3 separate regions of the Homo sapiens genome follow, and all the other regions are linked to region 1. Evidence: promoter capture Hi-C in 16 types of primary human blood cells and fetal thymus (Javierre and others, 2016). All regions are on one chromosome and are shown on one strand. The core of a region is centred on a gene start or on the middle of the fragment in contact, and the rest is flanking DNA. Distances in the headings are between cores, read along the strand shown. Region 1 holds the start of MRGPRG-AS1 (MRGPRG antisense RNA 1). Region 2 overlaps SLC67A1 (solute carrier family 67 member 1). Region 3 overlaps NAP1L4 (nucleosome assembly protein 1 like 4).

Region 1 (3,842 bases), core at 741-3,240:
AGAACACATTCATCCCGGGGAAGGAAGAAAAACCAGCAAAGGTGCGTGCCTCTGGGTTGGGGGACTACATGTAAGCTTTTCTTCTTTCCAGTTGTTAACCTTCTTCAAAGTTTCCATAAACGAGCAACGTTTTACTTTTCTAGTGGAAAAAGAACAACTTTATGCAAAGGCAGCTGCAGAATGTCCCACCCGGCACCAAGAGCACCCATTGAATGCCTTCATTTGGGCAAAAAAGAAAATTTCTGCAGGTCTTTATTTAAAAAAATACATAACTGGAGTGCTTTTCATCAAAAATGTCCCCATTTGGGTGGAAAAAAATTTTGGCGATTTCTCTTTTTAGTATTTTCCGTAGGGCTTGAATGTTTTAAAAATGACCAGAAAGTATTTTATTTCATGGTCAGAAAACACATCAAATGGTTTGCACTTTGGAAACTTGGATCCCCTTCCTTCCTTCCTTCCTTCCTCGCTTCCTTCCTCCCTCCCTCCTCCCCTCCCCTCCCCTTCTCTCTTCTCTTCTCTTCTCTTTCTTTCTTTCTTGCTTTCTTGCTTTCTTGCTTTCTTGCTTTCTTTCTTTCTTTTTCCTTCCTTTCTTCCTTCCTTTCTTTCTTTCTTTCTTTCTTTCTTTCTTTCTTTCTTTCTTTCTTTCTTTTTCCTTCCTTCCTTCTTTCCTTCTTTTCTTTTCTCTCTCTCTCTTTCTCTCTCTCTCTGTCTCTCTCTCTCTCTCTGTCTCTCTCTCTCTCTCTCCAAAGCAAACACTTGGGGCAAAAGCTCCAGATGATCCAGGGCTGAGGAGGGAGGGTGAGAGCAGAGGTGGGAGACGGGAGCAACCCGCAGAGAGCGGATGGCCCTGGGGACGCAGGAGAGGCCGGGTGGGGACCAGTGTGGGAGGGGATGGGAGGGGACCGAGGGGATGGAGGCTCCTGCATCCGCCGGCCCACGGGGCTGGGTCTGTTCTGTGCAGAAGCAGCACCACCTGGTGGCCTCTGCTGGTGACATCAGGCACCTGCCAGTCCTGGGCCTCAGAGAGGGGGACAGAGCCCTGGGTGTGGTCCCCGCGGGGTGGGCAGGACAATGATGGCTGAGCAGGGCGGGGAGTAAGGAGTAGTTCCACCTCAACTCTGTAGGGGGCGAATCAGAGCCTCAGCCAGCAGGTGGCATGGACGGCGCCCACCTAGCCCAGGAGTCCGGAAGCCTGGGTTCCAATCCGGCCACTGTGGGCTGGTGGCTGGCTCTGTTTTATTGTGCAGTTTTCTCCCCTGTGACTCAGGTGCAGCAGGGTGGGGAGGGGCCGGGTAAGGGGATCTGGGCTGGGCCTGGGGGCGTGGTGCCTGTCCTCACCCCTATTCAGGAGGCTTCTCCTTTCTCTCTCCTTGCCTGACCTCTCTCCAGCTCCATTTTCTGCCTCCCTCATCCTCAGCAGGCCTGGCTGGGGGGTGGTCAGGGCCAAGTCTCTCCAGCTGTGTCCAGCCCTTGGGTGCTCAGGGTAAGAGCTAGGTGGTGGGCGGGGCTCCTCCTGGTCCTGAAAGCATCTGGGTGTGGGGTGAGCGAGGGTCGGTGGGGGTGGGCACCTCCTGGCAGGCCCTGTGGGCGGGGCAAGCCCACTTATAGGAGACCCATGGGCAGGGACTGTCCCCTGGCACCCAGCTCGGCGCCCTCCCCCAGGGCCCTCCGCAGTACCGACCTCAGCGGCTCCCGCTTCCCGGGCTGTCGGCCCAACCCCGAGTAGATGAGGGGCTTGGAGCTGCTGTTGACGCAGGCCAGCAGCGTGGCCAGCGGGGAAAACACGGGCAGCAGGAAGTTCAGCAGGGGCTGCAGGCTCCAGTAGAAGACCGAGGGCAGGCCACAGAAGAAGAGCAGGAGCAGCGCGCCCAGGACGATGCCGTAGAGCCTGGGCCGCGGGCGAGTGGAGCAGCAGGTCACCCAGACAAAGAGGACCACGCCAGCCGTCCAGGCGACGCGGGCCAGCACCAGGAACCAGGTGACGCTGGCCACGTGGTAGCGCGGGCAGACCAGGGGGCACGCGCTGTTGCGCAGCAGGCCGCAGGCGTTGGCGGGCAGCGGCACGGCCGGCAGGGTCGGGGTCCACACCAGGGCGCAGAGGACGGCCGAGGCGTGTCTGGGCCGGCAGCCCTGGTAGCAGGCGGGGAAGAGGTCGGAGAGGCAGCGCTCCACGCTGAAGGCCGCCAGCAGCCAGAGCCCCACCGCGAACCACAGGAAGGTGAGCACGAAGTAGAGTGTGTCCTGGGCGCCCAGGGCAGCCTGAGCCACGGAGAAGCCCACACGGCAGGAGAGGAACAGGAAGTCGGCGGCGGCCAGGTGCAGCAGGTAGATGGAGAAGGGGCCCTTCTTGATGCGGAAGCCGAGGTTCCAGAGCACCAGCCCGTTACCTACCGGTCCCCCGAGGCCCACGATCAGCGTCAGGTAGAAGACCACACTGTCGAAGGTTCTCCAGAGGCCGAACAGCCCAAACATCCTGGCCGGCTCAGAGGGTGCTGGCGAGGGACCTGCAAGATGGAGACAGACATGGTCCTCAGGAGTCTTTTGTGCCCCCGCTGGGGGCACAGGGAGTGGCATCCATGGCCCTGCAGGTGCCCTCTGGGTGCAGCCCCTGGACCACCCTTCCCAGCGGCGGGACCTCAGCCGGGTCTCAGCCCTCTGCACCTCAGGTCAGGCGTGCCTAATGCCTCCCCATACCTGAGGGCAGGCCCTGGGCTCCTGGCAGGGTGGACTAACTTGCTGAAAAGATGTCCATGTCCCTCATGGATGTGGTGAGGGTGATGCTGCACCCTCCACCGTGTGCCAGACAAGGGTCTGCAGACAGAGGGAACGTGCATGGGGAACCCACGTGTGGCGCCTTCCTCTTCCCCCAGAGGTGGGAGCTTCTCCACGGTGGACCCTCATGGGGCTCCCACCTGGTGAGCCTAGACCAGCCTGCTGGCGAAGTCCCCTCCCCGGAGGGTCTCTGGAGGTGTCCAGGGAGGTGCCCAAAGGCAGAGGCTGCAGGTGGTCTGAGGAGGAGGGAGGAGGGAAGATGCGGTGTGAGGAGCTGGAGGGAGCCCCCAGCCTTCCCTGTGCACTCCTGGCCTAAGCAGAAGCTGAATCCCGGGGCTCATGCTGCCGGCGGTGCACTCAGGAGGCTGCTCTGAAGCCTCAAGCCAAGAGAGGGGCTTTGGTGATGGTGGCAGGGCCAGGGGGCCTCTCCAGGAGCCACTAACACAAGGGGAGGGGCAGATACAAGTGGCCACTTGCAAGGAGCGAGGCTGAGAGTCCCGAGGATGTTCTCAGAGTGCGAGAGAGATTGGCCACCGGAAGCTGCGCTGAAAGGCAGAGGGTCTCAGAGCAGCCCTTCCCTTTCCAGCCATCCCTCCTCCCCCAGGATCCACATGGGTCATGTTCTTAGTCCTGGGAGATGCATCAGGACCAGGCTCAGCAGTGGCGGCGTCAGCGGTGAGAGACACGGGAGAGAGAAGAGAGATAGAGAGAGACAGAGAGACAGGGAGAGACAGAGATGTAGACAGACATTGAGAGACAGAGACAGAGAGACAGAGACAGAGAGCTACAGAGAGATAGAGACAGAGATAGACACAGAGAAACAGAGATGAGACAGACTGTGTGTGTGTGAGAGAGAGAGAGACAGACAGAGAGAGAGCCATCAAGCCGCCAACACACACCTGGAGCCCTCCCTGTCACATCTTTGCCTGGGCTGTGTCCCCTGCCCAGACAGCCCTGAATACCTCTCCCCTGACCCAGGTCCCACCCTACTTCAAGGTTTTGCTCCTTCTCAGGGGCCTGCAACCCCCTGCAGCTTCCTCCGACCCCCGTGAGCCCCCTGCCTCATGGCT
Region 2 (3,842 bases), core at 1,343-3,842, 300 kb before region 1:
GGGGCCAAAACTGACGCCCAGGCTCCACTGCCAGGTAAGCCCCGCCAGGTACACCCTGCCCAGATGCTGGGGCAATGGAAGGCATTGGCTAGGCCTGCGTGCTCCAGCCAAGGGGTACGGGGGGCCTGAGGGGAAATCTGGGGGCTACTCACACCCTCCTGCCTTCCTTGAACCCTTCCCAGCTGCTGACATCATAGAAGCCAAGTGAGGTGTGGTCATGAAGAGGTGGAAGTGGGGCTCCGGCAGGCAGGGAGGCCCAGAGAGGCAGGAAGGCCCAGACAGGGAAGGCGTTAGGAGGGGAGGCCCAGACAGGGAAGGTGCTAGGAGGGGAGGCCCAGAGAGGCCTGGGGAGGACCAGGAGGGACCCCCCCAATGGGGTGGGTGGGCCAGCAAGGCTCCGGAAGCTCTGAGTGTCCAGGGAGAGGCGAGGGTGCTGCCCGAGGGGCACTCATTGGTGGAGGGCAGAGGATGGTCAGGCTGGTCCCATGAGGAGAGGCCAAGGCTCCTCAGAGGGGGTCCCCTCAAGGCTGGCCCCCTGCTGAACGCAGCCCCTTTGTGCCAGGCACGTGGCAGGGCCCATGCCTCGGTGCCTAGGGACTAAGAGCCCAGCCTGGGCCAGAGGGACCCACCTGGGACCATCCTGGGGCAGGAGGCTGTCATGGAATTAACCTAGAAAGTCCAGGGGGAGGGCCGGGTGGAGATGGGCCTGTGGCGAGCACAGCAGAGCCAGAGAGGCAGGAGCCCCTGAGACAATAAGGAGGAAGGACTCGGTGAGCCGGGCTGGGGGCCTGTGGCTTCGCACTCAGAGGTGCCCGGTGGGCCAGGCCACGGCGGTGACTTGTGGCCACAGAGAGTGGTACAGTATTGCCATTGTCTTCCTCTGGGCTGGTGGCCTGGTCATGCTCTGCCCCAGGCCCCAGGCCAGGACCATATAGGAAGCAGCTATTGGTCCCTTGTTCAGGGACTGCCGCAGGCCTCCGCCACTGCATGCCCAGGTTGAGGCCAGTCTACCTGCGTGCAGAGAATGCTTTTCCTAAGTGCCTCTGGGGATTCAGGGGGCCCCTAGGAATGCGTAGAAGTGTGCTGAGGGGCGGTGCCCAACCTGGCAGCTGGGAGCATCACCAGCTCCCATTCCCACAAGTGAGCGGTGCTGAAGCCAAGGAAGGAAGCTTTACCCTGGCGGGCGCAACAGGGCCCTCCGAATGGCGAGGCCTGCAGCCGGGCGAGGGGTGGGCATTGGGACAATGGCCTTTGCAGGCCTGAATGGCCTCTCCGTGCCAGGCGGCCCCCGGGCCAGTGTGTTCGACCTGAAGGCCATCGCCTCCCTGCTGCGGCTGCCAGACGTCCCGAGGATCTTCCTGGTGAAGGTGGCCTCCAACTGCCCCACAGGTGAGTCCCAACTACTGCCCCAACAGCGGCCAGAGCCTGGCAGAGTCCCAGCTGCGGCCAGGGCCCGGCCCTTCCTCTGGCCTGTGCCCCACAGGTCCACACAGATGTGGTAGAGCAGGCAGGAGCGGGAGGAAGGCAGAAAAGTGTCTTTCCCACCTCCTTCCAGCCCCTCTACACTGCACACCTGCAGATCCCAGGGTGGGCCCCCACGGGCAGAGGGCCTGGCTCGCAGCCATGCATCCCTGTGTGCTCCTCAGCTCTTACCCTCATACCCTGTGGCCCCACGTCCTCTCCAGACAGCCTGAGATGCAGGGACAGCAGGTCTGAGTGTCACCACTGCCTTCTGCAGCATGCTGGCCCTGGGCCCTCTCAGCAGACCGTAGGGCGTCACGGACCACAGATAGGATAGCGAGCCACGGACAAGCCCACGAGCAGCCCTGTCCCTCAGAAGCCCCGCCTGGACTCCTCTAACTGAGAAGCCAGGAAGCAGGATGGAGAATAGGCCCTCAGCACTCCAACTGGCACCGGCCCCTGTCCCACCCAGCCCACCTAGGCCAGCTCTGTTGGTTCTCAAAACTGGAACCCAAGTTACTAACCTCAGTAACAGGCCCTTTGAGGGCCCTTTTTTTTTTGAGACCACTGACCAGGCTGGAGTGCAGTGGTATGATCTCAGCTCACTGTAGGCCCCACCTCCCAGGCTCAAGCAATCCTCCTGTCTCAGCCTCCCGAGCAGCTGGGACTACAGGCATGGGCCACCACGCTCAGCTAATTTAAGTGTTTGTAGAGACAGGGTCTCACTATCTTTTCCAGGCTGGTCTCAAACTCCTGGCCTCAATCAGTCCTCCCTCTTCGGCCTCCCAAAGTGCTGGGATTGCAGACGTGACTTTGAGGGCTCTTATAACAGAGAGCCGTGGTGGGTCTTGGGGGCCAAATCCTCCCACGTGGTCAGCCCTGGGTCCCTCCCTTCCAGCACCTTCCTGCTCACAGTCCAGAGCTTAGCAACCACACGAGAGGCACTTTCCACACCAGGGATACGGCAGAATCCCAGGGAAGGGTCTCATTGGCCCGGCTGGCATCACAGGCCCCTCCCTGAACCAGTCACCAGCCAGGGCCCAGACACCCTGATTGGCCAGGCTGCTGAGGCGGGAGGGAGGTGGGCGCCAAGGTCGGGGTGTGGGGGTACTCACCCCTGTTCCCCTGCCCCGGCTCAGGGCTCTTCATGGTCATGTTCTCCATCATCTCCATGGACTTCTTCCAGCTGGAGGCCGCCCAAGCTGGCTACCTCATGTCCTTCTTCGGGCTCCTCCAGATGGTGAGTGGGCACACAGGGCCTGCTGGGGGGCACGGCAGGGGTCTCCAGTGGGGCAGGCCTCTGAGAGTAGAGGCTCCTCCCCGGCGGAGGCTGGGGAGCCCTTGGCCTCCCATCTGGCACATGTCAGGGTCCACAGGGAACCAGGCATACAGGCCAGGGAGGGAGAGCCAACTGCAGTGGTGGGCACGCTGTGAGGACAGTGGACTCCGGCCTCTGATGGGCAGCTGGCTGGGATCTGTGGCAGCCCACCTGCCCACCAGCTGTGTGACCAGAGCAAGTCTCCCAAACTCTCCAAATCTGTCCCATGAGGCCAAAGTGCCCGCCTTGCAGGGTCCTTGGCAGATGAGATGACCTAACGTGGCAAAGTGGTTAGACCAGCGTGGGCCCCTTTGGAGGTCCCATAGGAGCAAGACGCCAGCCCTCAGAGGCCACGCTGTCATGGTAGGATAAGACGCCAGCCCTCAGAGGCCACACTGTCATGGAAGGATGCCCTGAAACCCTGGCAGCTCCGATGCGGCAGGTGTCTGTCTGCCAGCCCCCCAGAACCGCTCAGCTCCCGGGCCGGGGCGAGACACCTCCACCACCAGCTCCTCTGGGCTTCTGGACCAGACCCTGGGTGGTGGGGACAGGTGATGATTTGCCACCACCCAGGATGGCTGCCTGACAGCCAGAGTGCGGGGCGGGGGGGCTATTCTGGGACCCGCCAGGGTGGGGGTGGGGGCTCTCGGCCTCTCCGGAAGCCTGTGGCATTCCTGGCACCTCCAAGCCATCTGCTCTTCAGCCTCTGGGCCCAGGACTAGACTAGTGCTAAAATAGCTGCTCCTGGGAGGGGCTGGACCCCCACCGTGGGCAGAGAGGGCCTCTGCTTTTTGGGGCAGGAGGGGCCACCCTGGCAGGGTAAAAAGAGATAAACAGAAAAACAACAGCAACAATAATAGTAACAATCCGGGGTTGTTGCCATGGGGCCTGTTCTGAACAGGCTGCGCCCAGCTCACTGCGAGGAAGGACGCTTAGCCAGGCCCTGGCTGAAGCCTGCAGCTGGGCTGGACACAGCAGTCATTGGCCTGTGTTGTGGGGGACTTGGGCCTGCCATGGCTGCAGTGGGGACCCTGCCTGAGACAGACAGAGCTGGGGTGGTGAC
Region 3 (3,842 bases), core at 555-3,054, 270 kb before region 1:
ATGACAGAGCCAGAATATCACACTGACAGCTTTTAGTGCACACTCCAAAAAACAAGGGTAAAAACAAGCAAAAAACGTCTAGTCGGACAGAGACACATTACAAAAACACCAGGTAACGTTAGTATTCTGACAGCCCATAATATACTTAATTTTAAGAGGCAAGTGAACTACACATTTCATGTTTTACAAGAAGAAACTCTTATGATGCTGTAGGATGACATTTAAGCACTTCTGATTTTAAAATGTGCCAAATGGTCAAAGTACCTTGATTTAAGTTACTCTGAGACCACAAATAAAAATCTAAATTTGCAGGTAAAATTAATGGGGTTGCCCACTCATTTTCAACTCAGTTTTCTTTAGTAAACCTTTCCAATTTATTTTAAATTATCTGAGACATATGAGATATCTAGACACATCATCTGGGCATGCTCAGCTCAAGTGCAACTGGGTCAAATGATGCCCACAATCCCATTATTCTGTTCCTTAACAAAAAGAGCCCCAAAGTCCCTTCTTTGCACCTTTTCCAAACACGCACAAAGAAAAGTTTATTTATGTTGTCAGTTAAATCATTACCTTACCTTAAAAGAATGAAACACTTGGAAAGTCAAGTTGCTCTACTGAGGAGTCTATGTAAATAAGACACAGCTTGAGACAGCTGGAAAAGCTTCTACTGAGTATGTACACTCAACACTCAAATTATAGACACAGTGTCTGAATAATCATTCCACTATTTTTCTGACACATTTTAAACTTTCTAATTAGGGAATAATGAATATTGTTAACACTACTGCCTCAAAGTGGGGAACATTTTTAAAAGTCTAAGAGTGCAGCATAATAAGTAGGTCTGGGTGGCCCCAAAGTTACCAACCTTGGGGTTAATTTCCGCATCATCCTCGTCTTCTCCCTCCTCGTCACCTTCTAATTCCTGTATTTAAAAAGTGAGAATTAGCTGGAATGACAAGATTTAAACTCTTGTGGCATTCACAATCCACAAACACAAGGAGCAAAACACTGCCTTAGATGGAAATCAATTACTGCTACCCACAAGTGACTCATCACTTCCTTTGGACACTTAGAATTATTTCTAGGTATCTTTTTGTTCTCACAGAGAGCCCTGAAAGAAACAAAATTCTGAAAAAGTAGATTTTGTTAAATGATTATTTTCTAAGATACATTTTCATGAACCAACTGCAGGGTCAAAAACGATGGAAACTGTCACAGCATTTGCTATGCATTTCTGCTTAGTGTTTTAAGAACATTCTTAGAATCAAAGACAGCGTCACAAAAAATGGGTTTAACACAGCCCTGTGAGTCCATAACCTTCAAGCAGAGAAAGCCAAAGAAACAACTTCAGGGAGGTAAGTGGCACTGCATAAACCTGTCTCTTACCTCCTCTTCTCCTTCTTCACCTTCTTCAAACTGGAGAAACACAGAAAAACATTTTTAGGTTTACAAAACATGACAGCAGCCTGCCCAAGACACCAGTCCCATCAAGTGACTCACTGACCAAGCCTAAGAGGAGCAGAAAGTCCAGCCACGCTGCCTGCTGGGCCTCGCTTGCCTGAGGAGCCATTTGCTTGTGTGCAGCGCATTTTAAAAGCATGCCAGGAAATTGAAAGTCACGCAAAACAAGGAATAGGATAGGAAGCTGGTCAGCCAGGGTGTACCCTGGACACAGCTGGGAACCTGGCACCACAGCTCTGCCCTGGCTGTTCTCACACCGAGGAGCAGGCACACAGGAAAAGATTTTTGTAAACCGATGAATTTGTTTTCCTTAAATTTTCTACAAGGCTGATCGAACCAGCAGCATAATGTTATTGGATACAGGAATCTGGGTATCATTTTACATCTCATACAAAGGGAAAAGAAACCTTAGTAGAAATATATTAAAACTTTGGTGTTTAATCTTTAAAGTGATCAATAAGGTGCTCAAAGGTGAACCTCCACCATTAGTCAATTGTCTTGAATCAGTTTCTCCTACATCCAAATACATCATTGGTCAGACTAAAAATCAAGTTTCAAACATGAGACTTACACCAAAAGCAAAACCACCTTATCACTACTGGTTGCATAACAAGGGTAGTGCATGAAAATGCAGCTTCATTTATCAACATTTCCCATTTTGTTGAGCTCACACCATGTATTTGCTTAGAGCCAACTTCGGTGGAACTTAGAAGGGCCCTACTGTGCTGGTGTGGAGTTCACACAGTGTGCACAGCCTCCTGGCGCCACGCAGCAGCCAGGATGAGATGTGGCCACGGTGCAGCGCCCTTCCGCTCTAAGGACCCTAACTGGCATCAGGCAGGGAAAGGCTTCTCAATATTCTTCCATTTCACGTCAGATCCAACGAGCCTCCAGCAGGCTCCAGGGCCTATTCCAAGGCTCTAAGGACAGCATTTTGCCCTTAAGGGGCTGTGCACAGGGGCTGCTCCAGATGCATCACCCACCTGGGCAGAGCAGGAGCTGCCACGTGCAGAGAAGACAAGACCAGGGTTCCCACATTCACCTCCTCCTCCAACAACTTTCTAGTGTTGGGGTACGGTCTAGAAAGTAACATTAGTAAAACACTTTATGCCAACACTTACTGAGTCATTGCTCTGTGCCAGGTGCTATGTTAAGGGCTTAACAAGTAACCAGAGTCTTTACCATGAGCTCTACTTACAGCTGAGGAAACTGAAGCTCAAGGAGGTGGTGGAGCTACTAAAGGGAGAATGGGGATGCGAGTCTGAGCAGTCTAATCTGAGCTGGCACTTCTAGCCTCTAACTGACACTGCTCATCAGTAGTACCTGTGCTGAACGTATTGTGAATGAAACGCACATGTACTATAAGCAAATGTGGCACAGTGCTCACCAGCAGTACAGATACCGCATATAAGTAAGCAAATAGCACACATGCATATTCAAGTCCTTTAAACTGACGGGTGTATGATCAAAACAGTTTCAGATAAGCTTTCCAATGTGTAGCCACTAGCCCTTAGCTCACTATTTAAATTTAAACTAAGGTAAATGAAATGTTCAGTTCTTCAGTCTCAGCAGCCATATTTCAAGTCCTCAAGTGGTCAGTCCTACTGCACTGGACCAAGCAGGCAGAGGACAGTTCCATCAACAGAGAAAGTTCTACTGGAAAGTGCTGGTCTAGAATTTGTAAAACTATGTCTTGGCAGCTACCTGACTGTCCATGTTCCCTGACCTGCAATCACCTCCCAACCTAGGGATGAGCCAGCAAGTTGAGTTTTAGAAGTTAAATGAACAGTCTAAGACCTAACAGCTGATAAAGAGCACGCTGGCCTATTCTCCCCACTGGTGGAACTCAGTACAATGGGAGAGGTGTGAGGAGATGTTGGCCTTTACTGCCACAGGGGGCTAAGGCCCTTGAACCCACCTAAGCTCTTGCCGCCCTGTCTGAAGCCCCAACAGACCAGACCTTCTAAGAAAAGAAACCTAAGAGCTCCACAAGAAAGAGAGTATCATCTAGAACATACTTCCAGTAACAGTCTATAAAACAAAACTTTATTTTCCACAGATCAAGAAGACTTGAAGCTGCTTGAGCCTTGGTGAGGATGGGAGTTTCTAAGCGGTACTTGGGCTGTGCACCCGCAAGTTCTGACTGTGGAAGAGCTGGCTTCCCTCAAGCCCAGAAAGGAAAGTGACATGCAATCTTGTTGTTTTCTTCGGGAGCACGGGTTTCTTTTTTTTCCTTTTTACCTAATTAGATAGAAGTTCAGGAATTTCTATTTCTTTTGGGTTGATGAACCACAGGCTAGCATAAGTCCACTGTCAATAAATGTTTGTTGTGGCCAGACCTCCATAAAAGAGATATTCCCTGTGTTCACAAGTTCCCT

The links. The method cuts DNA at HindIII sites, captures the fragments that hold promoters and counts their contacts. A CHiCAGO score of 5 or more calls a contact.
Region 2: a fragment that was not itself captured here is called in contact with the fragment with the promoter of MRGPRG-AS1 in region 1 in 1 of 17 cell types (erythroblasts); the score reaches 5.2 in erythroblasts.
Region 3: a fragment that was not itself captured here is called in contact with the fragment with the promoter of MRGPRG-AS1 in region 1 in 5 of 17 cell types (M2 macrophages, M0 macrophages, M1 macrophages and 2 more); the score reaches 10.2 in M2 macrophages.

The regions. Positions count from the first base shown.
Region 1 is chr11:3,216,342-3,220,183 of GRCh38, forward strand. MRGPRG-AS1 (MRGPRG antisense RNA 1) reads left to right here and starts at 1,991. Exons shown (of 2, transcript NR_027138.1): 1 at 1,991-2,218. MRGPRG (MAS related GPR family member G) reads right to left here and starts at 2,472. Exons shown (of 1, transcript NM_001164377.1): 1 at 1,603-2,472. The coding sequence starts at 2,472. The coding sequence ends at 1,603. RefSeq lists an enhancer at 3,568-3,842. The HindIII fragment of the contact is 7,931 bases long and covers 74-3,842 here.
Region 2 is chr11:2,916,707-2,920,548 of GRCh38, forward strand. It overlaps SLC67A1 (solute carrier family 67 member 1), which reads left to right. Exons shown (of 11, transcript NM_002555.6): 6 at 1-34; 7 at 1,282-1,389; 8 at 2,601-2,701. Among named protein-coding and RNA genes, the nearest start is that of PHLDA2, 11 kb to the right of the region's middle. The HindIII fragment of the contact is 2,851 bases long and covers 1,168-3,842 here.
Region 3 is chr11:2,950,391-2,954,232 of GRCh38, forward strand. NAP1L4 (nucleosome assembly protein 1 like 4) reads right to left here. Exons shown (of 16, transcript NM_005969.4): 13 at 1,390-1,419; 14 at 869-925. Among named protein-coding and RNA genes, the nearest start is that of SNORA54, 12 kb to the right of the region's middle. The HindIII fragment of the contact is 2,285 bases long and covers 663-2,947 here.